Linked DNA regions of Homo sapiens: regions 1 and 3 are each linked to region 2. Evidence: promoter capture Hi-C in human tissues and cell types (Jung and others, 2019). All regions are on one chromosome and are shown on one strand. The core of a region is centred on a gene start or on the middle of the fragment in contact, and the rest is flanking DNA. Distances in the headings are between cores, read along the strand shown.

Region 1 (3,168 bases), core at 538-3,037, 330 kb before region 2:
ATTTAATTTTATTTTATTTATCTTATTTTATTTTTGAGACAGAGTCTCATTCTTTTTGCCCAGGCTGGAGTGCACTGGCACGATCTTGGCTCACTGCAACCTCCGCCTGGCGGATTCAAGCGATTCTCCTGCCTCAGCCTCCAGAGTAGCTGGGATTACAGGCGCCCACCACAAAGCCCGGCTAATTTTGTTGTATTTTTAGTAGAGACGGGGTTTCACCATGTTTGGCCAGGCTGGTCTCAAACTCCTGACCTCAGGTGATCCACCCACCCAGGCCTCTCAAAGTGCTGGGATTACAGGCATGAGCCACCCCGCACCCGGCAGTTTTTGTATTTTTGGTAGAGACGGGGTTTCCCCATGTTAGCCAGGCTGGTCTTGAACTCCTCAGGTTATCTGCCCACCTCGGCCCCCTTAAGTGCTGGGATTACAGGCAGGAGCCACTGCGCCCAGTCCATCTTTGGTCTTCTGCATATGCTGTTCCCTGTGCCTGGAACATATACTCCTGCTTCCCTACCCTATTCCCCAGGGAAGCCTTCTGTCTCCTTTAGGTCTCAGCCAATTCCTCACCTCCCCCAGGAGGCCTTTCTCTAACCCACCAGATTGTGTGTGTCCCCTGTGTTCCCATAGTCCCGATCCATAACCAGTCCCACCATAACCCTTTGAGAGCACCACAGTTCGTTCACCAGCACCCACCATCACCAGCACCCTGCCCAGGGGAAGAGTGGCTGAACCCTGAGCATAACTCTGAGCCCCATCCCACCTGCCTCCCCAGCCTGACCTGTGAGGTGTCCACGTCAAAGAAGCTCTGATAGTAGCTGAAGGTCCAGAATCCCGGCTGCTGCTGCTGCTGCTGCTCCTGCAGGAGCTGCACATTGCGGGCATTCAGTGCCTGCCCGGAGAGCCTGGGTCAGCTGGGGGCTGCAAGGAGGCAGGACACAGGGACTCACCGCGGCCTTGTCACTCTCCTCCTCCACCTCATCCTCGGCTCCATAGCTGCCACCTGAGCCCACGGCCACAGCCACGTGCCCTTGTGGGGTCAGCTGATCGCTTCTGCTGGTGGTGGCTGCATCTGGGGTGTCAGCCAGAAGATTAGTGGCCTCCTCGAATTCTGTGGAGGAGGTATATGGGACACACGCACGTTTGAGGGGTGGAAAGAACTCGACTGGGCCCAAGCTAAACCGATGCTCATCTGGGGGCGGAGGCTCTGCTGAGCCATTGATCTCCCCCAAGGTGGGGCCCAACTTCCTCAGTTTGGAGGCATCCGGAGGACATCTGTTCCCTTCCTCCTAAAGTGGAACTGCAACTTAGGGTTGACGCTGGGATGGGGTCAGGGTCTGGGGACGAGAGGCTCGGGTTTGAGGTCTGAGTTCAGGGCGGGGGCGGGGTTCGAGTCAGAGATGGGTCTCACTCCTGGGTCAGGGTTCACAGCCGCCTAGGCTTCGGGGTAGAGAAATTGGAAGCCGTATCGGGGGGAGGTTCTGGCCCGGGGCGGGAGTGGGAGATCCGGCCACGTCGGGGCCGCACTCACCATGGAAGGTCAGCTCGTCGGCCGATGCCATGGTCGTTCAGGGGCGTCTCCGCATCCCTCGCTGAGGACAGAGACCGGTCAGGCACACTTCCCCCCCGCCCCCGAGCCGGTCCCTCGGCCCCCAGCCCTACCTGGCGACCAACTGCACCCACGGAGGCTTGAACTCGTCGTCCCGTCCCCACAGGTGCGCTCCGCCCCCCCTCACCTGAGGCCACCTGGGCCGGCGTGGCTGGGGCTCTCTGCGCCTGCGCGTCTCGCCTACCCGTCAGACTCCAACCGACTCAGACCTGACAGCAACATCCGGCGCCTGTCCTCTTTCTATCCTCTCCCGTTGGGAAGCCACTTCCGGTAAAGTTGGCGCTTGCGCAGAAGAGACTCCCGGGCTCTTAACGTCGGGTATCAGGAGTTTCTTCCCGGAGCAAGGACCCCCAAGACGGAAGAGGATGGCCGCGGCGGCTCTGAGGAGATTTTGGTCCCGGCGCCGCGCAGAGGCGGGCGACGCGGTAGTGGCGAAGCCGGGAGTGTGGGCGCGGCTGGGTGAGTAGCGGCGGAAGGCGGCAGGGTGGGTGGCCGCCGCGACAGGGTGGGTGGCCGCCGCGGCCGGATCACTCTTACCGCGCTCCTCTCCCCTCAGGGTCCTGGGCCCGCGCGCTGCTCCGGGACTACGCCGAGGCCTGCAGGGACGCTTCGGCGGAGGCTAGGGCCCGGCCGGGGCGCGCCGCTGTGTATGTGGGTCTGCTGGGCGGCGCGGCGGCCTGCTTCACGCTGGCGCCCAGCGAGGGTGCCTTCGAGGAGGCGCTGCTGGAGGCGTCGGGGACCCTCCTGCTGCTGGCGCCGGCCACCCGCAACCGCGAGTCCGAAGCCTTCGTGCAGAGGCTGCTCTGGCTGCGGGGCCGTGGCCGCCTGCGCTACGTCAACCTGGGGCTCTGCTCGCTGGTGTACGAGGCGCCCTTCGACGCCCAGGCCAGCCTCTACCAGGCGCGTTGCCGCTACCTGCAGCCCCGCTGGACCGACTTCCCCGGCCGGGTCCTGGACGTGGGCTTCGTGGGTCGCTGGTGGGTGCTGGGGGCCTGGATGCGCGACTGCGACATCAACGACGACGAATTCCTGCACCTGCCGGCGCATTTGCGGGTGGTCGGGCCCCAGCAGCTGCATTCCGAGACCAACGAGCGGCTCTTCGATGAGAAGTACAAGCCTGTCGTGCTCACCGACGATCAGGTGGACCAGGCGCTGTGGGAGGAGCAGGTCTTGCAGAAGGAGAAGAAGGACAGGCTCGCCCTGAGCCAGGCCCACTCGCTGGTGCAGGCGGAGGCCCCGAGATGAAACCCTGAGGCCCCCGAGTCCTGGCAAACTGCTTGCCTGGGGTGGTGCAGTTCTGAGTGTGCCTCACCTGCAGAACAGCTGAGACAGATGATGTGCAAAGTGTTTTCTCACTGGATTTGCACAAGTTTGGGGAGCCTTTCTGCCCCCCGTCTTTGTTCTTTATTAGCTGAAGCTAATTCAGAGCCACCTGGGTCCGGGAGTTGGGGACAGCAGAACGACTTGACACATGTTCATCACTGGCAGAGCTGGTCATGAGCCTTTTATATAAGCCTTTTTCATCGGGCCTCAGAGGCCCTCCTTAAGGAGGTACCACATTG
Region 2 (3,181 bases), core at 317-2,816:
CAGCCTCAAAGACGCCAAAGGTCTAAGACATTTTGAAAGCCAATTTACAGACAAAGATAATGATAGAACATAAAAATTGCCCAGCCATTACGCCCCAGCCACCAAGTCTCATCCCTCCTCTGCTGAGAACTCCCCATGGCTCCCACCTCACCTGGGGTCCAAAGTCAAAGTCCCTTGCACAGCCCACACGACCCTGTACATTCTACTCTTACTGTCCCCCTCCAGCTCTCTGTTCCTGCCTCAGGGCCTTTGCACAAACCCTTCCCACTCTTTCCCCCCACAAACTGGCCTCGATCGATCCCTCTCTCATCTCCTTGAGGTTTTTGCTCAAAGGCACCTGCTCATCCAGGCCTTCCTGACCCACCTCCCGCATCTCAAGCAGCCCCCACCCTCCCATCCCCCTTCCCTGTCTTCTTGTCCCTACAGCACTTGTCACTGACAGGTAATCTACTCGATCAGGCTTCTGGTCTCTCTCCGCCACTATATCCCAAGAGGGGGATCTTTTGTCTCCATAAGACCAGGGCCCAACCCACAGGGCAGCTCTTTCACCTGGGGGCAGTCAGGACAGGTCCCCCGGGGAGAGGATACCTGAGCTTCTGAACGCACCCTTGTCGCAAAGACCCCCCGCCAACTGGGGGCGAGGCTTTTCAGCCCCAGAGAGTCTGATATACCCCTCCCAGGCTGTGACTCTCACAATCCCCAGTGGCCACGGAAATGGATCCCCCAGCGCCTGGGGCCTGTCCCCTCCCCCGTCTGCCCACCAGCTGGTTCTGTCCCCAGCCCCCACTCCCTCCATTCAATCACCCATCCATCCCCAGCGCGGTCCAGCCCGTGACGGGAGAGCCTGAAGCAGAAGGTGGGGGGGCGTCCACAGCTGTCCCCCTTCCCCCCCCCCGACAGCTGGGCACTGGACCCTGGAGGGGGAAGGGCACGGGAAACTCCTCGAGGGGTTTCAAACGCCACCAAGGAGCCCATCTCTGTCCCCAAATCTCAGAGCCTGGAGCCTCCCTGCCCCAAACCAGGCACTGAGGAAGGAACAGAAAGTCCGGCCCACCCCGATCTCCGAGAGCGCGGGGACAGTGAGGGGCCGAGAGGCGGACGGGGAGCGCAGGGAGTTCAGGGGGCGCCCGTCATCCGCATCCCCACGCCACCTCCTCCGGGAAGCCCTCCGGACACACCCCCGCGCGTCACGGAGGCAGAACGGCAGCCGCCATCGCGCTCCCAGCCCCGACGCGACTCCCATCTGGGACCCCCGCCGGGACCCCCGCGGCCCTCCCCGCCTTCTCCCGCTCCCAGCCCCGGCCGGAGGAAGCTGGCGGGACCCGGGCCGAGGCGGAAAGGGGTTGAATTGGGGGCGCCCGGGCGGGGAGGGTCGCACCGCCCCGGGGCGGAGCCGGGCCACGTGGGGGAGGTGGGAGGGGGCCCCGCGGCCACACTACCTGTTGATCTTGTGCGCGAAGGCGCGGCGCTCGGAGGCAGCCATGGTCCTCGCGTCCCGCCGCCGCCGCCCCGGGCCCCGGCCCCGCCGCCGCCGCCGCCTCCCGGTTCTGGGCAGCCGGGGCGGGGCGGGGCCGGCGCGGGGGCGGGGCCCTTCCGGGTGGCCCGGGCCGCTCCGTGCTGCCCCTGCAGGCCGGAGGGGTCGCCTGGAGTCCTGGGGGCTGGGGAAACTGAGGCTGGGGACGGAGAGGAGGCCCCGGGATCCAGGCTGGGCGGGCCCCAGACTCCCGGGCTGGGGGGACGCTCTTTCTACCCTAGGAGAAGGGCTGGGGAAACTGAGGCTGAGGAGGGAAGTTAGGGAGAGGAGGCGCTGGGACCCAGACTGGGGGTGCCCCAGACTCCCGAGCTGGCGGGGGCGCTCTTTCCACCCTGGGAGCTGGGCTGGAGAAACTGAGCCTGAGGAGGGAGGGAGGGAAGGGAGGCGCTGAGACCCGGGCTAGGTGGACCCCAGGCTCCCGGGGTTTAGTGGGGTGGTCTTACCACCCCAGGAGCAGGGCTGGGGAAACTGAAGCTCAGGAGGGAGGGAGGGAGGGGAGGCGCTGGGACCCAGGCTGGGTAGGCCCCAGATTTCCGGGGTTTGGGGGGCGCTCTTTCTGCCCTCTGACTCCTGGCTGGAAAACAATAACGATGTTCATGTATCTAATAATCATACCTGTAAGTATAATCGTGGCCGTGCATGGTGGCTCATGCCTGTAATCCCAGCACTGTGGGGGGCCAAGGCAGGAGGATTGTTTGAGCCCAGGAGTTGGAGACCAGCCTGGGCAACATAATGAGACCCCGTGTCCACAAAAAATGCAAAAATTAACCAGGCATGGTGGTGTGTGCCTGTAATCTCAGCTACTTGGGAGTCTGAGGGAGGAGGATCGCTTGAGCCTGGGAGGTCAAGGCTGCAGTGAGCTGTGATTGTGCCATTTCAATCCAGCCTGGGTGACAGAGCGAGACCCTGTCTCAAAAAGTCTAATTGCTAAGATGTCATTGAGCCTGGCCCTGCAATTCACACATGCAGAAGAAATTATTGTTTTCCTCCTTTTACAGATGAGTAAACTGAGGCACAGAGGTGTTCGGGTGCTTGCTCAGTGTGACTCACAGGGGTCTCCAGCGCCTGCATTGTCCGTGCTCCCAGTCTACAGCATGGGAGTCAGAGGAGCCTGGCTAGGCACTGGAGTGCTCGGAGATGTGCCCCAGGTCCAGGTGGTGGGACCTGAGTGAGCCAGTTTGGGAGTCTAGACTTTCGGGGCCGCCTCTACCAAGAGGAAGAGGTGGGGATGTCTTGGTTAATCTATGGTCTCAAATCTCTCCCCACTGGCCTCTCTCCCAGCACTGCTGCAGCATTTTTAGAGAATTCTCCAGCCGACACTCCCCTCTGGAGGAGCTCACCCCTTTCTCACCTGCATGCCTCTGCACCGGCAGGTCCTTCCTCCTGGACAGCCCTTCTTTCCCTGGTCAGCAAATGCCCCAGGGAGAATTTGAGGTTGAATCAGACAAGGCCGTGGCTCTGCCTCAGGGCCTTTGCACGTGCTGTTCTCATTCCCATCTATGGGTTGCTGGCATTTTATCCTCTATTATTTATTTATTTATTTATTTATTTATTTATTTATTTATTTATTTATTTTGAGGTGGCATTTCGCTCTTGTTGCCCAGACTGGAGTGCAATGGCACAATCTCGGCTCACCGCAACCTCTGC
Region 3 (2,815 bases), core at 316-2,815, 320 kb after region 2:
CCACTAAACTTATAAACGGACCCAAATATGCATCCAATGACCTCTTAAAGTGATATTTCTTTTTCTTTTTGTTGAGATGGAGTCTCACTCACTCTGTCACCCAAGCTGGAGCGCAGTGGTGTGATCTTCAGCTCGTCCCAACCTCCGTCTCCCAGGTTCAAGCGATTCTCCTGACCTCAAGTGATCCGTCTGCCTTGGCATCCCAAAGTGCTGGGATTACAGGCCTGAGGCCAGGCCCTGAATTAATTTTTTGATGTTTCACTTTGCCAGGTGTATAAGTAACATGTTAGTTGTGATTGTAACTAAATAAAGGCTTAAGGGAAACCGTGTTTCTAAATTTCTAAATTGACTACACATTTACAAAGGAACCCACAAAGATGGATTTTTGGGCCGGGCGCAGTGGCTCACGCCTGTAATCCCAGCACTTTGGGAGGCTGAGGCAGACAGATTGCCTGAGTTCAGGAGTTCAAGATCAGCCTAGGCAACAAGGTGAAACCCTTTCTCTACTAAAATACAAAAAAATTAGCTGGGCATGGCAGCGAGCACCTGTAATCCCAGCTACTTGGGAGGCTGAGGCCGGAGAATTGCTTGAACCAGGGAGGCAGAGGTTGCAGTGAGTCGAGATCACACCACCGCACTCCAGCCTGGGCAACACAGTGAGACTCGATCTTAAAAAAAAAAAAAAAAGATGGACTTTTTCGGGGCCCCAAGGCTTCAAAATTCAAAATGCTGTCATGAGTTAGTTTGATTTGAGGAACCAAAAATTGGCTTTTGTGGCTGGAGCAGAGTGAGCAAGGGGGAAGTGAATCCGGAAGGTTGAGTCTGCAAGGTCAAGGGCAAGGAACAGAGAAGGGTGTGGGTGGGGCAGGTTGCGTGTGCTCTTGGGGGCTGCAGGGAAGGGGGCTTTTATCTGGGTAAGGTGGGAGCCACAGAGGGTTCTGATCAGAGGGACAGATCTGACTTAGATTTTGCATGATGTCCCCCAGCTGTGGGCTGCGGGGCATGGGCTGCTGAATAGGTGGTTTAGGTGGGCAAAGATGGGTCATGGTGCCCCCTACCCTTTAAAAATTAAAAGACAGGGCCAGGAGCAGTGGCTCACGCCTGTAATCCCAGCACTTTGGGAGGCTGAGGTGGGCGGATCACCTGAGGTCAGGTGTTTGAGACCAGCCTGACCAACAAGGTGAAACCCCATCTCTACTAAAAATACAAAAAAAATTAGCTGGGCGTGGTGGCAGCCACCTGTAATCCCAGCTACTCGGGAGGCTGAGGCAGGAGAATCGCTTGAACCCGGGAAGCAGAGGTTGCAGTGAGCCAAGATCGTGCCACTGCACTCCAGCCTGGGCGACAAGAGCAAGACTGTCTCAAATAATAATAATAGGCCGGGTGTGGTGGCTCACACCTGTAATCCCAGCACTTTGGGAGGTTGAGGTGGGTGGATCACTGGAGCCCAGGAGTTTGAGACAAGCCTGGGTGACACAGTGAGACCCCATCTAAATTATTATTATTATTATTATTTGAGACAGAGTCTTGCTCCATCACCCAGGCTGGAGTGCAGTGGCGCGATCTTGGCTCACTGCAAGCTCCGCCTCCCGGGTTCACGCCATTCTCCTGCCTCAGCCTCCCAAGTAGCTGGGACTACAGGTGCCCGCCACCACGCCCAGCTAATTTTTTGTATTTTTTAGTAGAGACGGGGTTTCACCATGTTAGTAAGGATGGTCTGGATCTCCTGACCTTGTGATCCGCCTGCCTTGGCCTCCCAAGGTGCTGGGATTACAGGCGTGAGCCACCATGCCCAGCCTGAATTTTTTTTCTTAAAGATTAAAAAGGCAGAGCCTCTCTGCTCCTCCCATTTGACAGACAGCCACATCTTTTCATGCAGTGAAAAAGGCATGTCCCCGAGACACCGTGGTGAAAGTGAAGACAGGAGTAAATGGATTTGGCCATATTGGGTGCCTGGTCACCAGGGCACCAGAGCTGCTTTTAACTCTGGCAGAATGGATGTTGTCACCTCAATGACCCCTTCATTGACCTCAACTACATGGTCTACATGTTCCAATATGATTCTACCCACGGCAAGTTCCGCGGCACCATCAAAGCTGAGAAGTGGGCTGGGTGTGGTGGCTCATGCTTGTAATCTCAGCTACTTAGGAGGTTGAGGTGGGAGGATCACTTGAGACCAGGAGTTCAGGACCAGCCTAGGCAACATAGGGAGATCCTCTCTCTCTTAAAAAAAAAAAAAAAGAAAAGAAAAGACTGAGAAAGAGAAGGGAAGCTTGTCATCAATAGGAAATGGGAATCTCATCCCCATCTTCTAGAAGCCAGATCCCAGCAAAATCAAATTGGGTGACGATGCTGGCACTGGTTATGTCATGGAGTCCACCAGCAGCATCTTCACGACCATGGGGAAGGCTGGGGCTCGCTTAGGATGGGCAGCCAAAGGGATCACCATCTCTGCCCCCTCTGCCCATGCCCCCATGTTTGTGATGGACATGAACCATGAGAGATACAAAAACCTCATGATCGTCAGCAATGCCTCCTGCACCACCAACTGCTTACCCTCCGGCCAAGGTCATCCGTGACAACGTTTTTTTTTGGTTTGGTTTGGTTTTCTTTCTTTCTTTTTTCTTTTTTTGTTTTAAATAGGGATGGAGGCCAGGTGCAGTGACTCATGCCTGTAATCCCAACACTTTGGGAAGCTGCGGTTGGAGGATCACTTGAGCCTAGGAGTTCAAGACCAGCCTGGCCAACATAGCAAGACTCTGTCTCTACAAAAAGTTTAAAAAAATTATCCAGGCATGGTGGGGTGTATCTGTAG

What was found. The method cuts DNA at HindIII sites, captures the fragments that hold promoters and counts their contacts. A contact is called where the count stands out against the background at its distance.
Region 1: a contact is called between the fragment with the promoter of YIPF2 here and the fragment with the promoter of DOCK6 in region 2, in 2 of the 25 tissues and cell types used here (heart left ventricle and lymphoblastoid cells).
Region 3: a fragment that was not itself captured here is called in contact with the fragment with the promoter of DOCK6 in region 2 in 6 of the 25 tissues and cell types used here (aorta, dorsolateral prefrontal cortex, lymphoblastoid cells and 3 more).

The regions. Positions count from the first base shown.
Region 1 is chr19:10,926,852-10,930,019 of GRCh38, forward strand. YIPF2 (Yip1 domain family member 2) reads right to left here and starts at 1,788. Exons shown (of 10, transcript NM_001321439.2): 1 at 1,660-1,788; 2 at 1,529-1,589; 3 at 948-1,108; 4 at 779-865. The coding sequence starts at 1,559. TIMM29 (translocase of inner mitochondrial membrane 29) reads left to right here and starts at 1,960. Exons shown (of 2, transcript NM_138358.4): 1 at 1,960-2,065; 2 at 2,163-3,168. The coding sequence starts at 1,972. The coding sequence ends at 2,851. RefSeq lists enhancers at 419-1,121, 1,122-1,822 and silencers at 2,036-2,315, 2,356-2,405. The HindIII fragment of the contact is 42,517 bases long and covers 1-3,168 here.
Region 2 is chr19:11,260,958-11,264,138 of GRCh38, forward strand. It overlaps DOCK6 (dedicator of cytokinesis 6), which reads right to left and starts at 1,567. Exons shown (of 48, transcript NM_020812.4): 1 at 1,440-1,567. The coding sequence starts at 1,483. RefSeq lists silencers at 1,142-1,281, 1,362-1,421, 1,492-1,651. The HindIII fragment of the contact is 27,433 bases long and covers 1-3,181 here.
Region 3 is chr19:11,583,341-11,586,155 of GRCh38, forward strand. LOC124904638 (a long non-coding RNA gene) reads left to right here. Exons shown (of 2, transcript XR_007067140.1): 2 at 77-324. It also overlaps the pseudogene GAPDHP76. Among named protein-coding and RNA genes, the nearest start is that of ACP5, 7.1 kb to the left of the region's middle. RefSeq lists enhancers at 545-684, 695-754. The HindIII fragment of the contact is 7,524 bases long and covers 1-2,815 here.